6 separate regions of the Homo sapiens genome follow, and all the other regions are linked to region 1. Evidence: promoter capture Hi-C in 16 types of primary human blood cells and fetal thymus (Javierre and others, 2016). All regions are on one chromosome and are shown on one strand. Each heading gives the region's core, a stretch centred on a gene start or on the middle of the fragment in contact. The rest is flanking DNA. Distances are from core to core; before and after follow the strand shown. Region 1 holds the start of KLHL28 (kelch like family member 28). Region 2 has its middle 130 kb from the start of SSTR1. Region 3 overlaps SEC23A (SEC23 homolog A, COPII component). Region 4 overlaps SEC23A (SEC23 homolog A, COPII component). Region 5 overlaps GEMIN2 (gem nuclear organelle associated protein 2). Region 6 has its middle 14 kb from the start of PNN-AS1.

What was found. The method cuts DNA at HindIII sites, captures the fragments that hold promoters and counts their contacts. A CHiCAGO score of 5 or more calls a contact.
Region 2: a contact is called between a fragment that was not itself captured here and the fragment with the promoter of KLHL28 in region 1, in 1 of 17 cell types (total CD4 T cells). The highest score is 6.7, in total CD4 T cells.
Region 3: a fragment that was not itself captured here is called in contact with the fragment with the promoter of KLHL28 in region 1 in 7 of 17 cell types (non-activated CD4 T cells, M0 macrophages, total CD8 T cells and 4 more); the score reaches 9.9 in non-activated CD4 T cells.
Region 4: a fragment that was not itself captured here is called in contact with the fragment with the promoter of KLHL28 in region 1 in 2 of 17 cell types (non-activated CD4 T cells and total B cells); the score reaches 7.0 in non-activated CD4 T cells.
Region 5: a fragment that was not itself captured here is called in contact with the fragment with the promoter of KLHL28 in region 1 in 4 of 17 cell types (total CD8 T cells, total CD4 T cells, M0 macrophages and 1 more); the score reaches 7.1 in total CD8 T cells.
Region 6: a contact is called between a fragment that was not itself captured here and the fragment with the promoter of KLHL28 in region 1, in 5 of 17 cell types (total CD8 T cells, total CD4 T cells, non-activated CD4 T cells and 2 more). The highest score is 18.1, in total CD8 T cells.

The regions. Positions count from the first base shown.
Region 1 is chr14:44,959,746-44,963,740 of GRCh38, forward strand. It overlaps KLHL28 (kelch like family member 28), which reads right to left and starts at 2,202. Exons shown (of 5, transcript NM_017658.5): 1 at 2,101-2,202. TOGARAM1 (TOG array regulator of axonemal microtubules 1) reads left to right here and starts at 2,445. Exons shown (of 20, transcript NM_001308120.2): 1 at 2,445-3,995. The coding sequence starts at 2,677. RefSeq lists enhancers at 1,269-1,358, 1,873-2,387, 1,929-2,738, 2,388-2,902. The HindIII fragment of the contact is 5,188 bases long and covers 1-3,077 here.
Region 2 is chr14:38,078,027-38,082,021 of GRCh38, forward strand. No RefSeq gene overlaps it. Among named protein-coding and RNA genes, the nearest start is that of SSTR1, 130 kb to the right of the region's middle. The HindIII fragment of the contact is 6,051 bases long and covers 1-3,995 here.
Region 3 is chr14:39,037,590-39,041,584 of GRCh38, forward strand. SEC23A (SEC23 homolog A, COPII component) reads right to left here. Exons shown (of 20, transcript NM_006364.4): 18 at 3,143-3,298; 19 at 1,442-1,507. Among named protein-coding and RNA genes, the nearest start is that of SEC23A-AS1, 64 kb to the right of the region's middle. The HindIII fragment of the contact is 1,685 bases long and covers 1,904-3,588 here.
Region 4 is chr14:39,059,090-39,063,084 of GRCh38, forward strand. It overlaps SEC23A (SEC23 homolog A, COPII component), which reads right to left. Exons shown (of 20, transcript NM_006364.4): 13 at 2,676-2,782. Among named protein-coding and RNA genes, the nearest start is that of SEC23A-AS1, 42 kb to the right of the region's middle. The HindIII fragment of the contact is 9,282 bases long and covers 1-3,995 here.
Region 5 is chr14:39,127,988-39,131,982 of GRCh38, forward strand. It overlaps GEMIN2 (gem nuclear organelle associated protein 2), which reads left to right. Exons shown (of 10, transcript NM_003616.3): 7 at 293-361; 8 at 3,971-3,995. Among named protein-coding and RNA genes, the nearest start is that of GEMIN2, 16 kb to the left of the region's middle. The HindIII fragment of the contact is 9,579 bases long and covers 1-3,995 here.
Region 6 is chr14:39,188,192-39,192,186 of GRCh38, forward strand. No RefSeq gene overlaps it. Among named protein-coding and RNA genes, the nearest start is that of PNN-AS1, 14 kb to the left of the region's middle. The HindIII fragment of the contact is 703 bases long and covers 1,866-2,568 here.

The sequences.
Region 1 (3,995 bases), core at 952-3,451:
AATGTATCCTTAACCACTTCCTTTTAACTTTCTGAGGTGTACTATTAATAAAACACCTAATAGTGTATTCTACTATCTAAAAATTGATTACAAATTTGTACTCTCTCTATATATGATTAAATACAAAAGGCTTTTTAAGTCAATATACGAGAAATTCCTAGATTTCCAAAGATTAAAAAAAATCTGCTTCGTAATAAAAAGAATACACACTCAATGAATGAGATTTATGTTCCACAAAATAACTCTAAAAGATAATCAGTAAGACGTGATGCTGATGAAGTCCCATTTCCTAAATATCCACTATGGAGACTAATGCCTCTTCTAAGTCTTCAATCAAAGAGACAAAATGTAACAGATAAAAAATAAATTGCAATCTGTAATGTATAGTGATCCACAGGGATCTAAAAAAACAAGAATCAAAAGGAAGACTCATCTTGCTTTGTTCCCAGGAAAAGGGCATGATAACTGCTTAAGTATCCACGTCTCTCATTTAAGACTTTCGAAGTTCCTTTTCTGTGATTCCATGATTACCACACAACCTCTAGTTATTAACTTGGCTTCCCAAGTTCTTGGATACAAGAAAGAGTGCACTGGATTTTCAACTTGAAAATTCTGATCCAACATAAACTGGCACTGTAATGTGTACATCATTGTCTAGGTTAGTTTGAACTGGGTTCCTCAAGTCTGGGCAATACATGACTAGAAGTCTACACATTTGAGCTTCTTAGGTTGGAACTGTGAGAACCAGACACTTTCTCATTGACAACTGCTACAATCATTTCTTGTTTTTCACCTCCCTGTCTTTAACCTGTCCCTAAAATGAAACATGCTAGCTAAACCTAATTTAGGCAGATTCATTTAAACACGAAAATGGCTCATTAAAACCAAAGTAACAGCCTAGAATTTAAACCAAAACATAGGATGTATATTTACACAGCCTCATTTACATTATAGTCTATTCCCCACCCCCACCCCCCCAAAAACAAAACAAAACAAAACTGATATTCAAATCGTACTTTAAGGCAAAAATCCAGAAATTATTTTTGCACTTGCATCAGCTGGGAGCATTATTTATAAAGCTGTTTGGCATATGTGACTCATTTATTCCAAGACTTTAAAAAGTATTTAAGAGAAATCCCACCTGGTACAGAGCAGGGTAGGAATACTTGCATTTGAAGTGCATAAATTTGGGTCTTCAAATGATAACTTAGACTTTTCGCACGAGTCATTCAAAAGTAATAGTATTATTCCTTCAAAAAAAAAAAATATCTCTTCCACACTCCAAAGCATTCAGGCTCACACTAGACACTCCAGCTCTTCCACTGTGTCCGTTTAAGTATCACTTATGAGGAGAAAATGCACACAAAATTCTCAGTTCGCCTAAAATAAATAAATGTCTACTATCATTCCTAAATCCACAAGGCAGAATTCTCTTAGAACCATGATGCCAAGAACTTCCACCGCAAGTGAAATTGTCTTCGCAATCTCTGTCTCTAGGAGACTGAAAGGCTGCAGAGACGCTTGAGGATCCTGCAGGGAGGCTAGGGCGGCAGACGGAGGGGGCGGAGGTTAGGGGAGAGTCCCACAGAGGAACTGCATTAGAAGGAAAGATTTTGATAACGTCTAAGGGAGAGGCGGTTAGCTACAGGGGGAAAAAAACAGACCTATTTCCATATTATGTACGTTGTAAAGAAAACGCAAAGTGATGAGGGTAAGGAAACGTTGCCAAAAACAAACAAACAAAAACAAAAAAAAATTAACCCTCTGCGGCCGGAGGGTTAAGAGAAGTCGACAAAAGGAGAAGGGGGAGGCGAATAAAGGCCCCAAAGACCAGGAATTGAAAAAAAATACCCGATTTGTGAGCTTGGCCGTGGTCCAGATCTTCTGTCCTGATAAGCAGATGGCAAGAGGAAAGGATCGCAGTTACTCAGGGTGGTAGAGAGTAACGCGTTTACAAGGGTGACGAGCCCTGCACAAGAAGATGTCGCCTCTCTTTCCACCTGCTCCGCTCAGTCCTTTGCCTCTTACTCTAGCACCAGTGGCATTCGGGCAAAACACTGCCAAAGCCTGCACCGCTGGAGGACAGCAAAAGGAAAATACCTGAGTCTCAGTAATCACACGGGCAGCGACAGGAGGAGGAACCGCGGACAACTGGAGCCTGGGCTGGATCCTCACTAGCTCCGGTCAAACCCTAACTCTTACGGGTGGGGCGGGCAACTTCCGCCCAGAGCAAGGAAAGCGTCACATCCGTCAAATGGCTTCACCCCTCCTCCCTTCTCCGCTGTAGCTGCGTTTACAACGTTCTGACTTCCTCTTCCAGGAGACTTTGGCCTAGTCTCAACACCTGACGTGGACTACATAACCCAGCATTCATCACGGCAAGTGGATTTCCGGGTCAAGAGGTCCGCGCTGGGTACATCACCATGGAAGCAATCGGTTTGGTCACGTGGTGCCCTTGGTTACGCCCGGTGGCAGCTGTGGGGTCTAGGGCTCAGACGGGGGCCATTTTGCCAGAGGCTGCCTCCCGGAGTTGGGGGCGGCCTGGCGGCAGGCTGAAGCTGTTCTTTTGCCTCTTCTGCAGCTTGGGGCTTGGAGAGGATCTGGAAGTCTGGGCTCCATCGAGCCCTTTGGAGACGGCAATGGTTTCTTCCAACCACCACCACCTGACAACCCTGCATGGCGGCTGCCCCCTCCGCGCTGCTTCTGCTGCCGCCCTTTCCAGTCCTCTCTACCTATCGGCTCCAGAGCCGCAGTCGTCCTTCCGCCCCAGAGACCGATGATAGTCGAGTTGGGGGCATTATGAGAGGAGAGAAAAACTACTACTTCCGTGGAGCTGCGGGGGACCACGGTTCCTGCCCCACTACAACTTCGCCTCTGGCCTCGGCCCTCTTGATGCCCTCGGAGGCAGTCTCAAGCAGCTGGTCTGAGTCTGGAGGCGGTTTGTCAGGGGGAGATGAAGAGGACACTCGGCTCCTTCAACTCCTCCGCACTGCCCGGGATCCTTCTGAGGCCTTCCAGGCTTTGCAAGCTGCTTTGCCGCGGCGGGGCGGTCGACTTGGCTTCCCCCGACGCAAGGAAGCTTTGTATCGGGCACTGGGCCGAGTGCTTGTGGAAGGAGGTAGTGATGAGAAGCGGCTCTGCTTGCAACTTCTCTCGGACGTTCTCCGGGGTCAGGGGGAGGCAGGCCAGCTTGAAGAGGCCTTTAGCTTAGCACTTTTGCCTCAACTAGTTGTCTCGTTACGGGAAGAGAATCCAGCCCTGCGGAAAGATGCGCTGCAGATCCTTCATATATGTCTGAAACGTAGTCCTGGAGAGGTGCTGAGAACGCTTATACAACAAGGACTGGAAAGTACCGATGCCCGACTTAGAGCTTCCACAGCACTACTGCTTCCCATCTTGCTTACTACTGAGGACTTGTTGCTTGGTCTGGATCTCACCGAGGTGATAATATCCCTAGCCCGAAAGCTTGGTGATCAGGAGACAGAAGAAGAATCTGAGACAGCTTTCTCCGCACTTCAACAAATTGGGGAGCGACTTGGCCAAGACAGGTTTCAATCTTACATTTCTCGTCTGCCCTCTGCCCTGAGGAGACACTACAATCGCCGCCTGGAGTCCCAGTTTGGAAGTCAGGTTCCTTATTATTTGGAACTTGAAGCCTCTGGATTTCCTGAAGATCCCCTTCCCTGTGCAGTGACTCTTTCCAACAGCAATCTTAAATTTGGGATTATTCCTCAGGAGCTGCATTCACGATTATTGGATCAGGAAGACTATAAGAACCGGACCCAGGCCGTCGAAGAACTAAAGCAGGTGCTGGGAAAATTTAACCCTAGTTCTACTCCTCATTCTAGTCTTGTTGGCTTCATTAGTTTGCTATATAATTTGTTAGACGATTCTAACTTCAAAGTGGTGCATGGCACACTTGAAGTCCTGCATTTACTGGTTATTCGCCTTGGAGAGCAGGTACAGCAGTTCTTGGGACCAGTTATAGCAGCTTC
Region 2 (3,995 bases), core at 970-3,469, 6.9 Mb before region 1:
CTCTGCAGGTGAACTCAGCTCTTATTTATTGGAGAAAATAAGGACCAACTAGGGAGAACTTGCCCATTGTCCTGCCATGCCAACACATTTATCTGCTTTCACAGCTTCCTAATGCCCTTTCCTTCCACCTCAGAGGAGGAGCTTGCTCTGCTCCATCTGAGGCTGATCTTATTACATGGGGTCTTCAAGGTTCTTGCTCCATTAGACAACTCTCCCTCACCTGCAGAGTTACCTCTCCCTCTTTTTTGGCTCTTTCCTTTCAACCTATAGATTTTTTTTCGAATTTCTTCAGTTGAAACAGTAGCAACTACAACAATACCCCTCACCACAACACACATACACACACACTCCGAAACACACACACACATACACACACACACACACTTGCTCCAGCTTCTTTTCTTGTAATTCAGATACCTGTTACAGAACTATCCAAGCCCTGTCACCTGGCAGGTAGCCATTGTCTGGGTGAGGTATCCTGTTGTAATCTGGGTGCAATAGTGGTGAGGGCTCCATTACCACATGACCACTTCTGTTTCCTTTGTAAGCAGAAATGTTTAGCACATTTCGCTTGAGCTGTGTGTGTGTGTATAAATACATCAGTTAGTACGTGGTTAAACGGCAAAAAAAAAAAAAAAAAAAGGCTCTGATGATTTTCTCCCAACTAAGTGGTCAGATAACATGTACTGAGTACTTACCACATGCCAGGTGCTGAGCTAAGCCTTTCATGTGGATTACTGCACTTTATCCTAATGATCATGAGATAGTACTATCATTCCCATTCTCCAAATGAAGAAGTGAAACATCAAATATTGAGTACCTTGCTCAAGCACACAGAACAAGCAGGTGGGATTGACCATTGTTTCCCTGGCAAGACTCCAAGAGCATCCACCTTTGGGGGTAGTAGAGCACATACCTAGAATGCCAACCTTTCAATAACAGAAGTGTCCATTCTCTGCAGTGCTCCTGAGTCCACTGAGATACCTCATATATCCTCATGTGTACCTGTTGATTCTCTTACAGTGGTTTTCAATCTAAGTTAAGCATGAGAATTACGCCTGTCCCTAACCCAGACCAGGTGAATGAAAATATCTGGGGGAAATATGGGTACCTGTGTTTTGCAAAATCTTCCCTGAGTGATTCTGATGTGCAGAAAGGCTCACCGTTTCTCTCTTTTCTCCAGTATCCTGCTTCCTGCTCCCTTTATTCTTTTGTTATATTCTCTTCTGAATGGAGAGAAACCTTTCATTTTGAATAAATAAGATAGTTTGATAATCAGCTCTCTGTGGGTGGTGTTACTGGGAATTATTATAACTGTGTTTTGACTCTTTCATTAAAAGAGAAGTACAACTCATACAGATTGAGTAAATACTTGTGGTATTGTGAAATGATTTTTAAAAGCTCCATTACTCTGGACACTAGAAACAACATGAATCAGATGTCTTCAAGCTGTTTCTAGTTATAGGTTAACCTGAGTCTTGGAAACATTCAGTGAATCAGTGTTACCTTTCAGTTCCTCTGCTATAACCACAGTTGTGTATTAGGTATTCTACCGTATAGGCAGTTTTTAAAAAAATAATGAATCTACATGGTGTATTTAACACATAACTTATTGAGTTTAATTTCCTTTGTTATTTGGGAAAAAATATATTTGAAATCACCAAGCTACTGAATGTGTTATATTTAAGGGAAGTAGAAGAGGGTTTTGAATGACTTTTCTGCCATTTTCAATTTAAGTCTTATATTCTGGGAAACTAAATGCCAAAACTAATTTTGAAAAAAAAAAAGATAAAAATATCTATACCACTTTGTAGAGGGAAAGTAATTATTTTCAAAAAGCATCTCACTTTGCTAATGTTGAGAATAATCTGTGGCTTGATCCCAGGACTCTCTTATTTTGTCCTGGTGGGGGTAACTGTCAGCAAAAATTACTATACTGCTCTCCAACTATCAGCCTTCATTCTCAGAAAGTGTATAGTGTTTCTATGATTTATGACACTAATGGGACTCTCCTGGCAGCAGTGTGATCCATTTTGCTGATATAAAGGAAGCAGACAAACTCTAATCTCCTGTTGCACATATCCAAAGACTGAAGAAGAGACTGACATTTTAATTAGCATGGAAACGAGAGATGTGGAAGCCTTCAGCCCCTGAATGAACTAAGTCCTGCAATAGAGTCATATATAAAAGAAAAAGGCTCAATCATGCTTAAAAAAAAGACTGAAACAAACACTGGCCATTATGTGCTACATCACTTTACCAAAGGACATCAGAATATAAATCTGATTGGAATTTTAAAGGGCAACTTCTATTTTATGAGATAAAGTTTGTGACCTGAAAAATAACCATATTTATAGAATTATAGTAGTATTTGGAAATACTTACAAAGGAATAATTTATACATTAAAATTAAACTTTGAAATATGATTATGTCAAAATTAAAGGGCTGGGCGTGGTGGCTCACGCCTGTAATCCCAGCACTTTGGGAGGCCGAGGCAGGTGGATCACCTGAAGTCAGGAGTTCAAGACCAGCCTGGCCAACAGGGTGAAACCCGTCTCTACTAAAAATACAAAAATTAGCTGGGCGTGATGGCGCATGCCTGTAATCCCAGCTACTCGGGAGACTGAGGCAGGAGAATCACTTGAACCCAGGAGATGGAGGTTGCAGTGAGCCAAGATCATGCCACTGCACTCCAGCCTGGGCAACAAAGCAAGACTCTGTCTCAAAAAAAGAAAAAAAAAATCCAAGAACACTAGACTCAAGTCAAATTGAATAACAATCTTAGGTTTTCCATTAACTAGCTGTGTCATCTTGGACCAATTACTTGATCTTTCAGGGCCTCACTTTCTATGCTAGACTAGATAACCTCCAAAGACTTTTACAACTCAAGCATTTTGTGATTTCAATAGATTTCCCATAGTAGTAGCTAATAAGTGAGCTGGAATTGTAATGAACAAGACTACTCTTCCGTAATAAAAAGGAACACCTGACTGCAAGTCAAAAAAGCTGCCTTCTACTCCTTGCATCACCAATTAAAAACCATGTGATCTGAGCACGTTCTTAATGCCATTTCCTTACCTGTAAATTAGGAATGGTGGTATCCCTTTGCATGGACAGGAGTTTTGAATGAAATGACGTGTGTATTAGTCTGCTTAGGCTGTCGTAATAAAAATACCACAGACTGCATGGCTTAAACACAGAAAAATTTCTGCTCACAGTTCTGGAGGCTAGATGTCCCAGATCAAGGCCTGACATAGTCAGTCTCTGGTGAGGGCTCTCTTCCTTGCTTGGAGACAGCCATCTTCTCTGTGTCCTCTCACAGTGGAGATAGGAACTCTGATGTCTCTCTTTTTCTTATAAGGGCACCATTGTTATCAGATTAGGGCCCCAGCTTTATGACCTCATTTGACATTTATCACATCCTCACAGACTCTATCTTCAAATATAGAAGCATTGGGGTTAGGGAGTCAACATATGAATTTTGGAGAAATACAATTTGGTCCATGGCATATATGAAAATTCTTTGTAAACACATCATTTTCAATTTTGTGTAAACACACAATTTTTATGTCCCAATAAAAATTAACAGCATAAGGAGATTGGGCACTTATATCCAATGTTGGCGAGACTACTGCCAACCAGAAGGTCTTTGAAAGACTATTTAGAAATTTCCACTAAAATATAAAGTGCTTATGCCTTTTGAGCTACTACTTGCACTTTAAGAATGTATACTTCTGAAGCATTCTTAGAATTGCACAAATATATACATATGGAATACTTATTGAAGTACAGTTGAAAAATTGGAAAAAATTAACAAGCAGATAAATAATTTGATACACTATAGTATGTCATACAATGAAATATTTTATATCCAATATGTATCTGTAATGTGAAAAATTACATATCCATTAAAACTGTGGTTAATCTGTACATAGTGACATAAACTGATGTCCAGGACCTGTTAGAGGTCTCCCAAGTAGCTGGGACCACAGGC
Region 3 (3,995 bases), core at 1,496-3,995, 5.9 Mb before region 1:
ATACTTCAGGATGTATCTCCTAAGATCAAGAAGAATCTCCTACATAACCACACCATTATCACTCTCAAGAAATTTAATAATTCTGTACTAGTTATCTGATATATGATCTATATTCAAATCTCACAAATTATCCCAATTATGTTCTTTATAGCTATTCTCTCCCTTTAATCCAGGATTCAATCAGAATTCAGATTTTGTGCATAGTTGCCATGCCCTGGAATAATTACTTTCCTGCAACTTCTAATCAAGTCCTATTGAGTCTACTTTTAAAATATCTCCCAAATCTATTCCTTTCACCATCTTGCCTTTACTCCCTCTCACTTGGATTATTTTCGTAAATATACTTTCAACCTACAGACTGCTTCCATTTAATCTTAAGATTCAACTATACTAAGACTCAAATCTGCCCTCTGTCCACCTTCAATGACTCTCCATTACTTACCAAATAAATACTCAACTTCTCACTCCTCAACCTGACATTCAAGATCCTCCACAATTTACTTGTACAACACATTTCCGTTTTATGTTCTTCTAGTCAGCTCTGCATGTAGTCTTTTATCTTAGCCCATACTATTCTCTACCTAGATTTCCCTTCCTCATGCAATTTCCAATTACTGAAATAACCATTCTTTAAATGAAATGTTTCTTTTTTCTGAGCTCTTTTCTGATTACACACCCTCTTCCTGCTACCACTATGTGACCTCTTGCCATCTTCCTCTTCTAACCTTTGTAATACTTCATAGCTTTCTAAGGACAAATATCCCATTCTGCCTTGTAATTTACTTAGGTATGTATTTTATCTCTAATATTAGACTACAAGCTCTCCAAAGGCATGGGTAATAACTGCACCCTAAAGAGCCAATACAAAGTCCTAAACATACTGGACACTCAATAAATGTTGATATGTTATACCAAGAGGTTAACACTTTTTTTTTTTAAGAGATGGAGTCTTGCTATGTTGCCCAGGCTGGTCTCAAACTCCTGGCCTCAAGTGATCCTCCTGCCTCAGCCTCTTGAGCAGCTGGGATTACAGGCATGAGCCACCACACCCAGCAGGACTTTTACCAAATTAAACTATATCAATAATGATTTGCAGGGTTCCTGCCCCTCCTTCTCAACTATGATCCCTGGCCTCTCTTGGCTTATCGTGGCCTTTTGTGGTTCACAACCTAGCATTAAACTGGAGTCACCACTTCCTGTCTTACACACTTCATTGCTTTTTGTCTCAAGGGTATAGTGCTAAACTTGGAGTCTATTTGATAGGATCACTTTTGTCCTATGGTGTCGCCAAATATTAATTCTGTTTTCTACTCTCATTTTTACATTACTTTTCCAACAGAAACCATTACTAAATACACAGGAAAAAAATGTAGCTTTCACTAAAATAATAAACAATAAATACACAAAGAAATAATTTCCAAGACCTGCTATTTAAACTTACCTGCCCCCAGGCATACATATTATTATGAGTCTGTGAAGGGTTGACTTTTGAAAGGAGGAAACGGGCCTTAAAAGCAAAGAAGAAATAACATTATCCATCAAAAATGGTTTCAGTCAATATCAGCTGAATAATTATATCATGCAAAATCAATTTTATTTAGTATGTGTTGGTAAAATTAATTTTATTAACTTAATTTTTAAAAGATTAAACTTTGAAATGTATAGGTCACTAAGTGTTACAAATAAATAATAAATGCACCTCTTCTCTCCAAATCATACATCCAAAATAACAAATACATTGTTGAGTCCAAAACTCAGCATATAAAAATTATGTGTGCAACAATTATGACAAGGTTGGTGTGAAATTACTAAACACTTGGTCAGAAGTTCAAAATCCCAAATAATGATAAAAACAAAAGCCATGAAAATCTGTATGTTCTTTTGCTTAAAATAATGACCCTTAAGCTTTCTTAAACCACAGGTGATTCTATGAGACAAGTGATCCAACATTTTATCCTTCTACCCACTATGGCTTATCATCATGAAAATAATAACCAGAATAAAAGAGGAAAATGGTAATACACACAGTGAGACATCAATGAAAGAACCAGTAAGATTTTTAACTCATAATGGAAGCACATAGACAGTAACATCTTTTGAAATTTAGTATCATACAAAATCTTTTTCTACTCTCTAAGGAATCAGTTTAACCTAACAGTGAAGAGCACTGGCCCTGGAGTACCAGGACTCAAATCCCACTCCTGTATTTACTGTGTTCCCTTGGCCATAAGTAACCTAGATCTCAGTTTTATTATCTGTTAAATGAAAATAACACTAGAATTCTTATGAGGATCAAATGAGATAAGGCATGCAGAAGTACTTTGCAAATTCTCAATATGAAATAACTCTCATATAAATACAGTAAAACTAATAGTAATTATCATTTCTGAATAACAGTTACTGATATTTGCTACCTATTTTATAATACCGTACTAGGCACTAGGGAATACAAAGCATAGTCCCTGCCTTCAAAGAGCATGTAAAACAAATTAATAACAACTTATAATTAATTTATTATAACTCTTATAAGAATTACAAAAGAGAAGTAAGAAGTATTTTATGAGAGTATGTTAAGGAACCTAACTTAGCCTTCTGAAGGTCTCAAAGCAACTGTGTATGTATGTATATGTATCTAACGTATATGTATCCTCAAAATCCTAAAAGCCACAAAACCTTTTCATAATACTACAGTGTTTTCCTATTACATAAAATTTTATTTTCTAGAAAATTGGAATGATAGAATGAAGACAATGAAAAAATGTAAGTTACCACAAATGTCATATTCATAGACTTTAACAGTAAATAAACGGCTTTAAGAAAAGTATATTACTTTCCAAGCTGTTCACATTTTCTTGTTCAACCAAAGCTAGTATACCACCACAATGCCATCCTGGCCCTGTTCAGGAAGCTAGGCTAGAGACAGAAGATGATGGAAAGTGCCAGGTTTAGGCAACTAGTCAATAATCTTACTGTTTTGCTCTCAAAAGCTAATGCAAAAAGTAAGCACTGATACCTTCCCCACCTATCTCCTTACCTTTCTGTCTGCTTTATGAAGCAATCTATTAAAATCAGAAGGCAAGCAGGTACACCTCACTGCAAACCTAACAACAAACAAACACACAAACAAATTAACACTACTTACCTGGCTGCCTCCATGTTCAGTGTCAATGTATCTTGGCATTGGAAATCTGGAGTGAAGAATTTCCTGTGCATCATCCACTGGGGCTTGCAGAAGGTGGCGGAAATTTTCATACTCAGGCATATCCTGGTATCCTGACTTCCGCCACTGTGCTATGGTCTAATTTTAAAACAATTAAAGAAATTACTTTAAATTTCTTGCCCATCCAAAAATCTTGAGATTTTTCCAAAGAAAATAATCTTTAGAAACTAAAAAAATTATAGACCATTATTCCATTTACCTCAATTTTTTAAAAGTTACAATTTCAGTAGAGAAAATATTCTTAATAAATATAAAATTAGAATATTTCTTCTCCTTTAAAAGTAAAATGAAAGAATACTTACATAAGTCAGAAAATTTTTAAAACACTATGCTTATCAAATGAATGTTAGCTAAAAGCTATCTACCTAAGCTTATGATACGTGAAAGCAATTGAATCAATCCATAGGTAAGTAGCTCTAAACACCATGTAATTAAATCATCTAAAAACTTATGCCTGGTTTATTTTCTAAGTTAGCTGAATCAGTCAACACATTCTTTTATAGCTTTATACCTCTGTATAAAACAATCATGTGCATTTCTGATTTCTCCTTTAACAAGCTACTTGAAAAAGTAAAAATCACCATAAAACAAAGAAAAAGCAAAAAAAAAAAAAAAAAAAAAAAAAGCCCTGTCAGTATTACAGGTTTTTTTTTTTTTTTTAACAAAGGCAAGAAGTTAAAACAGGTATTATTCTTAACAAGTAAAGGGCATTAGAAACTGGTATCAATTAAAAATAATTTACAATAATAATAATTAAATCTTTTAAAACTCCTGG
Region 4 (3,995 bases), core at 446-2,945, 5.9 Mb before region 1:
TGTCTTCTACATTTCCCGTATCCCTTCACTGTGATTCTTACAACTAGTTTAAACCAAAATTCCTAGATCAAAGTCATTTTGTACATGAAAAATAGAGTAACTTTGTCTTCTCAGGAGCCTTTATTTTCATATGGCTTATTCACTTAACAAAAACACTTGTCTAGGCCCCTAAAGTCATAGTCCTAGTTTAAAAAAAAAAAAAAAAAAAAAAAAAAAAAAAACAACAAGGTGCTCTGATCATTGGAAATGGTTGGGATAAGTTAACTTGAAAAGACGGATGCTTTTGGTAAGACACAATGCTATAAATGGCACCATAACACACATATGTCTCTACAAATAGCCTCATAAATTCTGTGCAAACTGAAAATATATAAGCCCATAATATTTCTCATAAGACAGCACCCTGTCTCTTGAAAGAGTCACCTAACCTTTTAAAATTTTCATTTTAAAAATATTTCAAACATAAAGACAGTAAGAGTGGAATAAACTCCTATATAACCATCACCTAGATTCATCAGTTGTTAGCATTTTAACACATCTGCATTATCATTCTCTCTCTCCATTTATATACACATTTTTTGCTGAACTTTTCTAGATTAAGTTGGAGATATTATGACCTTCTGCCTGAAATACTTCAGTGTATATCTCCTAAGAACAAAAAATTTTCTTATATAGCTCCAATTATTAAACTCATGAAATCTAACACTGATATAATGCCATTATCATATAGAAAGAGACTATATTCATATTTCCCCAATTGTCTAATAATGGCTTCTAAAGCAAAATTTTTCCCTGACATTTGCATTTTGTCCATGATCACACATTGGCATTAGTGGTAATGTTTCTTTAGTATCCTTTAATCTGGATCAGTTGCTCAGACTTTCTTTGTCTTCCAAGACATTTTTGAATAGTACAAACCAGTGACTTTGTAAGTTGTAAAAAGTCCTTCATTTGGTATGTCGTTGTTTCCTTAAGCAAATGTTCTGAATGTCAAATTTAATGTGTGCACACACATGTGTGTGTGTGTGCACACACGTTGAGAGCCATAAATAAACTGAGAAGTTTGCCAAGCATCAGTACTTCCAAGTTCCTTATCTGAAATCTGAATAAATCTAAGGGAAGGTTCAGCTGACATTTTTTCTTCAAATGAATAATGTATCCCCTTGACATTGTTCCAGGATGTTAAGTCAAAGCAAGGTAACAGAACAGAACACTAAATCTATGTACAACCCTGTGCTAAGTAATAGATCACCCAATACAGCTAATACTCAGTTCAAATGTTGTGTTCATGTCCATCACTCAACAAAAGTCTTAAGATTTTCAGGAATGAAGCTAGAGTTTAAGTACACTTAATGAAAATGAGAGCTACAAATGCCTTCCTTGTCCATTGTCGAGACCATGACTAAACTGGGTAAGTTTACTGATCAACACTTTTCCTATCCAGACAACCAAGTTCAAGACAAACAGAAATAAAGACCAAAGCCTGTTCATTTCTAGATTCACCTCATCTAAAAAACCTCTTCCTAACTAAACTCATTCCACAATTATTTTCCTTTTGTTTTATACTTCACAAATACACAGAGATACCAAAGTAGCAGAGAAATAATTTATTCGTAATTCTTAATAAAAAGAAAGGTACTAAATTCAGTTAAATTTGTTGTCTCTGCAAATGCTGGGCAAAGAGCCCATGAACAAATACATGCCTTATTTGGAAAATCTATCACAAAGATAGGAATAAGAAAAGGTATCTGTTGGGCCTTATTATTCCCTTCTGGGGACCCTGCCTATATCAATAAATTAGAACATGACTATGTTACACAAAATACTACCCTATAATTGAATCTGTTAGATAGAGACTTTACCTTTTGTGGTCTCAACAAGTGCTAGTCAAAGTGTGGTATGTGAACCAGTGCCATGAAGTCAAAAGAGGAACTGAGAATAAATATTTAGAAACTGAGCAACTTCACAAAATAATCTTATATCTTATTAATCTAATAATATAAAACAGGGAGTTTGTTTTAAATCACTTTTTAAAATTTCATTTTTCTAGTAATTCATTTTTATTGTATTTAATAAAAGCATCTGTACCCGAAGGATTAGGAAAAAAAACACAACTGGCCCTTTACCACAGACAATGTGAGGATGACTCTATACCACACTGTCATACAGCAGGAGGCTAAGTACGTTCACGGCTTCCGCATTCATACTCTCCTAAAACAGAACCTACTCCACAAAGCAGAAGCTGAGTAATGGCATAATAAATGAATTAAATGACTAATAAAACTTGAAAAAAAAATAGCTAAGAATTTTTATCACTAATTGAAAAGTAATGTGATTAATTACTGTGCTATATCATTTATATATATAATGGATTATATATATTATTATTGACTATTATAGGTAAATATCTGATTTTTCTCCTCTCACAGGAATGAGGTAAATAAAATAATATTTTGAAGGGTGTGTCTTAGAAGTACTTTTTAAAATTGCTCTTACGGTTCTTAGTAATGCATATTGTAGCAAATAAGCTGGGTTAGAAAGAAATAAATAAAATACTATTAGTCACAAATATTCACTTGCTAGTCATGGATGTCACCCAAAATAGGAATCCAGTTTGGAAACACAACCCAGATACCTGTGATATGAAAATCAAATCTCTAACAAATACAACTTACTTCCTAGCAATGGTGGTCACTCGGATGCGTCTCTGCCCACTTGAATGCTGATACTGAGTCACAAACTGGATTGCACCACGCCCTCCTTGAGGAATTGGAGCATTATGCTGTATAAATATAATGGAGTAAAACCTAAGCAAAATTTACTATGCTGTTGTCATATAATCACAGGCTACATGTCCTAGCACTAAAAATAATTCATTCTAAAATTGATTAGAAGGATACTTATTTCCAGTGCATTCAAAACAGTTATAATTTGTTACACAGAAGAGGAGAAATTAATTTGGAGAGGAGGAAAATAATCAAGAATGATAGAAGTCAGTCCTGCTAGGAAATCAATTTTCAAGTAATATATAAGCCAGAGGGACATGAAAGAACAAAGAAAAGGGAGAGCACAAAGAAATTAAAAGACAATTCCTAAGTGAAGCCATTTAAGCCAAACTGCACAGATTGAATATCCCTTATCCAAAATGCTTGGGACCCGAAATGTTTTGGATTTTGTATTTTTTTAAACTCAGGAATATTTGCCTTATACCAATTGAAGATCCCCAAATCCAAAAATCCAAAATCCAAAATGCTCTCCAATGAGCATTTTCTTTGAGTGTCATGTCAGCATTCAGAAAGTTCCAGATTTTGAAACATTTCAGATTTCAGATCTGAGATGTTCAACTTGTAACTAGATAAACAGAAATTGAGCTAAGTCCTCCTCCCCTAGGTATAGAAGATGAAAGCAGAACTTTTAGGAACATAATCATATGATGAACAACCAACCAATGAAAGATTAATAATGAGAAGAAACTAATAGCAATATATAATAATTATCATCAGAAAGAAATACAAGTAATCAATAGGAAAACTTTATTCCTGCATTCTGACAACAGACATTCTTGCTTTGTTTTTGTGTGTTGTTTTGTTTTTGTCAATAAGAGTCAATATATTTCTTATAAATTTTAATGTTTAAAAAAAAACTATTGCACCTGCCTTAGGAAAGCTGACTGTTAATATTTTGTGGTTCATTTTATGGCTAAAAACTATTAATATATAAGTCAGTAATTTGTGTTATTCTTCAATGTGATTAATTATCTCCTGTGGCAGAAAAAAAAATCTTCCCAAATACGATTACTTTCCAAACTTTTTCTATGGATTTTGACATATTAGACCTTCTTGTACAAAGACTCATATGTCATATATACTTTCTGACAACTAGGAAAAGCTAGACATCTAATTGCAAAAATGTGTAGCTAGAAGGGAATTTTAAATAACTGCATTTATCCTTCAATTTTATATTCAAAAAAAAGAAAGAAAGAAAACAGACTAAAA
Region 5 (3,995 bases), core at 497-2,996, 5.8 Mb before region 1:
AACCCGGGAGGCGGAGGTTGCAGTGAGCCAAGATCGCACCAGTGCGCTCCAGCCTGGGCAACAGAGTGAGACTCTATCTCAAAAAAAAAAAAAAAAAAAAAAAAAAGCCTCATTGGATAAGCCGCCTAATCAAACTAATTAGAGTCAAACAAATTAGCTTTCTTTGAAAGTTTAAAGAATGAGGCCATTTTTAACATCAGAGTTGCTTTCTAAATAAACTTAATGAAACTCATGTTGAATTCATGTTTTATTATTAATACAACTCTTCTCCACCCCCTCTTTTTTTTTTTAGGCAACAGTAACTAGTGTCTTGGAATATCTGAGTAATTGGTTTGGAGAAAGAGACTTTACTCCAGAATTGGTAGTATTGCATGTTTTTCTTTTCATAATGTAGGCAAAAATTAGACGTTTTGGGTCAACTGTGGGCCACATATACAATGGTGCTCCTATAGGATTATAATACTGTATTTTTACTGCACATTTTCTTTTTTTCTTTTCTTTTTTTTTTTTTTTTTTTTTTTGAGACAAGGTCTCGCTCTGTTACCCAGGCTGGGGTGCAGTATTACAATCATAGCTCACTGCAACCTTGATCTCCCCAGCTCAAGCAATCCTCCTGCCTCAATCTCCTGAGTAGCTGGGACTACAGGCGCATGCAGCCACGCCCAGTTTTTTTTGTTTTTTGTTTTTTGTTTTTTTTATTAGAGACAAGGTCTCACTGTGTTGTCCAGGCTGGTCTTGAACTGAGTCCAAATGATCCTGCCTCCTCACCCTCCCAAAATGCTGGGAATTACAGGCATGAGCCACCATGTGTGCGGCCTTTTGTGTTTTTTAAATAGAGACGAGGTCTCACCATGTTCCCCAGGCTGATCTCAGACTCCTAGGCTCAAGTGTTCTTCCCACCTTGGCCTCCCAAACTGTTTGGATTACAAGCATGAGCCACTGAGCCCGGCTCCTTTCCAGTATTTAAATATGTTTAGATCTGGCCAGGCACAGTGGCTCATGCCTGTAATCCCAACTACTAGGGAGGGCTGAGGCAGGAGGATCACCTAAGGCCAGGGAGGTTGAGGCTGCAGTGAGCCATGATTGTGCCACTGCACTGCACTCTAGCCTGAGTGACAGAGTGAGACCCTATCTTAAGAAATAAATATATGGTTTTTTTGGATGCACAAATGTTTACCATTATGTTACAGTTGCCTACAGTATTCAGTATAGTAATGTGCTATATAGGTTTGTAGCCTAGGAGCAATTGGCTATGCAATATAGTCTAGGTATAGTAGACTATACCATCTAGGTTTGTGTAAGTATACTCTATGATGTTCATCCAGGGTCAAAAATCACCTAACAATGCATTTCTCAGAATATATCTCCCTTCATTAAGTGATGCATGACTGTACTTGATGTGATGCTACGGTATTTATTTATTTTTTATTTATTTGTTTGTTTTGACATGGAATCTCCCTCTGTTGCCCAGGCTGGAGTGCAGTAGCGCGATCTCGGCTCACTGCAGCCTCCACCTCCTGGTTTCAAGTGATTCTCCTGCCTCAGCCTCCCAAGTAGCTGGGATTACAGGCACCTGCCACCACACCCAGCTAATTTTTGTATTTTTGTAGAGACAGGCTTTCTCCATGTTGGCCAGACTGGTCTTGAACTCATGACCTCAGGTGATCTGCCCGCCTCCACCTCTCAAAGTGTTGGAATTACAGGCGTGAGCCACTGCACCCAGCCAGTATTTATATTTATATTTATATTTGTATATGTGTGTGTGTGTGTATATACATATGTATAATCTGAACTATACTTGTTTGTAGTCAAATAAGAAACACTAGAATGTAAATCAACATACTACTTCCTTCATTGAGAAAGTCTTGGAGAAAAAAAGTCAATGAAAGAGTTGATGTATATCCTGGTACAAGGTACAAACTCCTTATCTCATTGCAGACAAGTTTGTTTTTTTTTTTTTTTTTTTTTTTTGAGATGGAGTCTCACTCTGTCACCCAGGCTGCAGTGCAGTGGTGCCATCTCGGCTCACTGCAACCTCTGCCTCCCAAGTTCAAGCAATCCTCCTGCCTCAGCCTCCTGAGTAGCTGGGACAAGTGTAGAGAATATTTAATTTAAATTAAATATTTAATTTAAATGCTAGCTTTACATAGTAAATGTATCCCTTAAAATTTGAGTCAAGTTGAAACATATAATTTTTTTTTATAGAAAAAGAATTCCACAATTTGTAAAAGAAACCTGGATTTGAATCTTTTTCTGTAAGAAAAAGTCTTAACTATTGATTTGAGTTTGCCTGAGGAACCCATTTAGTGTGTTGTATAAATTGCTATTTAAATTTTGTCCTAATATTTTTTAGGTTTCCCCGAAGTGATATGTTGCTTAGAATAAACAAAGTTGTATATACTACTGGTGGAAATACAAATTTGGTATAACCTTTCCAGGATACAATCTGGTGATCATATCTGAAAAACCTTGATGAATATACATACCCTTTGTCACCATTTTACTTGCAATACTTAATAAACTTTCCCCATGTTGTTAAATGAGATTAAACAAGGGAATGTTATTAAATACTCTAAACAAGACACTTAACATTCCCTTGTTAATCCCATTTAACTACAAGGGATGGCTGAGTGGGGTGGCTCACTCCTGTAATCCCAGCACTTAGGGAGGCCGAGGTGGGCGGATCACTTGAGGTCAGGAGTTCGACACCAGCCTGGCCAACATGGTGAAACCCCCATCTCTACTAAAAATACAAAAATTAGCTGAGCATGGTGGCGGGCGCCTGTTGTCCCAGCTACTCAGGAGGCTGAGGCAGGAGGATTGCTTGAACCTGGGAGGCAGAGGTTGCAGTGAGCCGAGATGGCACCACTGCACTCCAGCCTGGATGACAGAACGAGACTCCATCTCGAAAAAAAAAAGAAAAAGGACAAAAACAACATGGTAAACATTTTATTATGTATTATAAATAAAAAAGATGGCTACAAGATGATATTACAACTGATGAAATTGTATTGAAAAAAGGTTGTACAGCCGGGCATGGTGGCTCACGCCTGTAATCTCACCACTTTGGGAGGCTAAGGCAGGCAGATCACTTGAGGTCAGGAGTTCGAGACCAGCCTGAACAACATGGTGAAACCCGGTCTCTATTAAAAATACAAAATTAGCCGGGTGTGGTGGTACATGCCTGTAATTCCAGGTACTCAGGATGCTGAGACAGGAGAATTGCTTGAACCCGGGAGGCAGAGGTTGCAGTGAGCCGAGATCGCGCCATTGCACTCCAGCCTGGGCAACAAGAGTGAAACTCTGTCTCAAAAAAAAAGAAAGTTGTACATACGAATAGGAAAAACAAGAACATTTTTAAAGTGAATCAAAGTTTGATCTGGAATGTTGGGACTGCAGGTTTTTTCTTGTGCTTGTGGTATTCTTCACAGTTTTTCTGCATCAAATATGTATTCATTTTGTAGCTGAAAACCCCATTTTAAAAGGGAGTGGGGATACATTGAGCCTGTCAAAGTATTTATAAAAGTGTCAAAAGATTATTTCATCTGTAGTATAGTTTCTTTGTATGTCCCCAGAGGACAAAATTATACAATTATAAAATGATTTCTATATCTGTCCATACAGAACAAAGAAAAAAATGTATCTTAATTTTTTCCAGTATTTATATTCATCTTAATGTAGTGTTCTGCTTACAAATGAGAACTTCCTATCATAAGAATATCTGAAACAAACTCTTTGGAGATCAGGGAATATTTTGAGGTATCCAATGTCCTGTGTCTGTAATTATAGGATACAAGAGATAACACCTGGCTCTCCAAATGAGGCTTTCTTGTCTATACCCAAACATAATATAGTTAAATGTTCTATGAATTTATTCATAGCAGATAATCAGGCATAACATTGGACATTTAAAAAATAAACTTCTGGTTCAGTATTTGTCTAAATATTAATTTTTTGAATTTTTTTTTAGGGAAGATGGCTTTATGCTTTATTGG
Region 6 (3,995 bases), core at 967-3,466, 5.8 Mb before region 1:
GCCTATGGTCTTGAACCCAACTTGGATAAATATCGACAACCAAAATAAGTGACTGAGACCTAAGTCTTAGTCATCGAGGTTTATTGAGCTAGCTTGTGGGCATGCCCGGTGGAAAAAAAAACTTGTAAAAACTTGTTTCACGGATGTATCTGTGCCTATTTTTTTCCAAAGAGGTTCTCGGGAGGTTTAGTATTTATACATTTTCCTTTAAAAGTCTGAGGAGGGTGAGGGTGGCAGTGAGATGAATGATTACAGACTTATGAGACTTTAGTTAGTGCCCAGCAAATCTACATTTTACATAAGGTAAGGTGAACATTTGAAGAAATAGGAATAGAGGAAGCAGAGAGGTGAAGGACTGATTAATCTTGTCTTTGTTCTCTCCCTGGGGAGATAAGCTAGTAATCGACATTATCAATGTGGAGTCTTGAAAGGGCTGCTTTCTGGTTAGCCCTTGGGGAGGAAAGCCTAATGGCATTTGGTGAGGGAGTAGGTATAATGAGGCATGTTGGACCTCTCATCCCGTCATAGCTATGAACTGTTTCCCAGGTTTCTTTGGGGTCCCCTTGGCTAAGAGGGGGTCCATTCAGTTGGGGACTTAGAATTTTATTTTTATTTCTCAATATAAAACCACAACTGGCCAAGTGTGGTGAATCACATGCCTGTAATCCTAGCACTTTGAGGGGCTGAGGTGGGCAGATCACTTGAGCCCCAGGGGTTCAAGACCAGCCTGGGCAACATGGCGAAACCTGCCTCTACGAAGAATACAAAAATTAGCTGGGCATGGTGGCGGGCACCTGTAGTCCTAGCTACTCCGGAGGTGGAGGTGGGAGGATCACCTGAGCCTGGGAGGTTGAGGCTGTGGTGAGCTGTGATTGTGCCACTGCACTCCAGCCTGGGTGACAGAATGAGACCGGATCTCAAAAAAATAAGTAATTTTTAAAAAAACCACATGGGCACATCATAATAAAACTTTTGAAAACCAAATCCCAAATGTATGGGAATTTCTAATTATCTTTTTATTATCTATTTCTGGCTTAATTCCACTTTCATTAAAGAGCATTCTCTGTATAGTTTCAATCACTTAAAATTTGTTGAGAGTTGCTATTGGGCCCTGCATATGATTAAGTTTAGAAACTATAGGCATGTGGCCCTGAAAAAAAAGTTGATTCTTTAGCTATCATATGCAGTTTAGCTTGTGCCAATTAGGTCAATTTTATTACTTGTATTATTTAAATCTTTTATATCCTTACCAAGTCTTTGTGGGCTTGTTTTATCACATACCAAGGGAAGTATGTTAAAATCTTCCACTGTGATTTGTGGATTTATCTTTCTCCTTTCTTTTTTTTTTTTTGAGATGGAGCCTAGTTCTGTTCTGTCACCCAGGCTGGAGAGCAGTGGCACCATCTTGGCTCACTGCAACCTCCGCCTCCTGGGCTCAAGCTATTCTCCTGCCTAAGCCTCCCGAGTAGCTGGGATTACAGGCACCTGCCACCATGCCCAGCTAATTTTTATATTTTTAGTAGAGACGGGTTTCACTGTGTTGGCCAGACTGGCCTCGAACTCCTGACCTCGTGATCCACCCGCCTTGGCCTCCCAAAGTGCTGGGATTACAAATGTGAGCCACCACACCCGGCCTCTCCTTTCTATTTTTATTTTACATATTTTGAGGCTATTATAGTAGGTGCATATACATTTAAAATTGCTTTATCTTCCTTATGAATTAATCCTTTTGGAATTTTCAGATATCTGTATTCCAAACAAGGCTTTTGTCTTAAAGTCTACTTTGCCTGCCATTAGTATAGCTACTTAACCTTTCTTTGGGATAATGTTGGTATGGTTTATCTTTTCCTATCCTTTTACTTTCAAGCTTTCTGTAATCCTTTTATTAACAATGTGTCTTATAAGTAGGTTTAAAAAAAAATTAGGACAGCCTTTGTCTTGGCAGTCTGCTTAAGTTTATTGGCACGTTTAGGTTTAAATCTAGCATTTTACTAATTGCTTTTTTTTTTTTTTTTGAGACGGGAGTCTCATTGTCACCCAGGTTGGAGTGCAGTGGTACAATCTCAGCTCACTGCAGTCTCCACCTCCCGGGCTCAAGTGATTCTTCTGCCTCAGCCTCCTAAGTAGCTGGGACCACAGGCCTGCACCATCACACCTAGCTAATTTTTTGTATTTTTGGTAGAGACAGGGTTTCGCCATGTTGGCCAGGCTGGTCTCAAACTCCTGAGCTCAAGCGACCCAGTTAAATAGATCCATCCGCTTCTTCCTCCCAAAGGGTTGAGATTAGAGGCGTGAGCTACCGAGCCCTGGCTAATTGCCCTCAACCCCGCCTTTTTTTTTGTTTTGCCTATTTTGTGTTTTTCTTTTCTTCCTTTGAACTGGATGAATAATTATTAATCTGTTATCTCCCTCTGTTAAATTGATACTTCTGCATTCTTTTACAGTTGTTTCAGTGGTTTTCAGTTTTCCTAGAATTTACAACACACATCCATACATGATGCAAGACCCTTAGAACATTTTAGTCCATTTATGGTACTTTTTCTATGTAGTTTGTCTACTTATATTTTAAGCTTCACAATACATTATTATTGATTTATACAACATTCAGTATTTATTTATTGAATACCGCTTTTTAACATTGCTTTTCATACCTTCTTACATCTGTGGATCTTGCTCTGTTGCCCAGGCTGGAATGTAGTGGTGCAATCTCGGCTTGCTGCAGCCTCGACCTCCTGGGCTTGAGGCTCCCAAAGTGTTGGGATTACAGGCGTGAACCATCACACCCGGCCACTTATGATTTATTTATTGTAAGAACATTCAAATCCTTTCTTCTAGCTATTTGAAATATACTATGCAGCCTGGGCAACTGGGAAAAACCCCAGCTCTACAAAACACACACAAATTAGACAGGCATGGTGGCATGCACCTGTCGTCCCAACTACTCAGGAGGCTGGGGTGAGAGGATCGCTTGAGCCCAGGAAGCAGAGGTGCAGTGAGCCGAGATTGTGCCATTGCACTCCAGTCTGGGTGACAGAGTGATACCCTGTCTCAAAAAGCAAAAAACAAAACAATATGTTATTTTTAGCTATAGTCACCCTACTGTGCAATAGAGTGTCAGAACTTAGTCCTGTTTAACTGTAACATTGTACGCATTGACCAACGTTCTTCCATTTACCCCCTCCTCCTATTCTCCCCAGTCTCTGGTAACTACTATTCTATTCTCAACTTCTATGAGATCAGTTTTGTTTAGATTCAACATATGAGTGAATGAAGTCATGTGTTTTTTGTCTTTCTATTCTTGGCTTATTTCATTTAATGTAATGTTCTCCAGGCTCATCAATGTTGTTGCAGTTGACAGGATTTTATTCTCTTTTTATGCCTGAATAGTATTCCATTGCTTATACATGCCACATTTTCTTAGCCTGAAGAACATCTTTTAGAATTTCCATTAGTGTGGATCTTCTGGTGATATTATCTCAGTTTTTGTTTGTCATAAAATTACTTCACCTACCTTTCTGAAGGATATATTTGTTCAGTTTGGAGTTCTATTGGTGAGTATTTTCTTTCTGCAATTTGAATTATTGTTTTAATTATCTGTTTTCTGCATTCCATTGTTTGTGTTGAGAAGCCACATGACAGTCTCCTTTGAAGGTAATTCAAACCTTTTCCCTGAAGGGAGATGAAGGCAGGGAGTAGATGAAATACTCCAGTCCAGAAGATTTCATTAACTAATTTTATCAATTCATACAAATTCCAGAGAATAGAGGAAAAGGAATCAATTCTTAGCTCATTTAATGAGGCGTATATGACCCTGAAAGCAGGTCACAAATATATCACAAGAAAGGGAAATTTACATGGTAATCTCACATATATATGTAAAAATCTTACACAAAATATTAGAAGATTAAGTCCAGCCATATATGAAGAGGATACACAATGGTGTAATATTGAACACTTTCCCCTTGAGATTGGGAACAAAATAAGATATCCAGTAT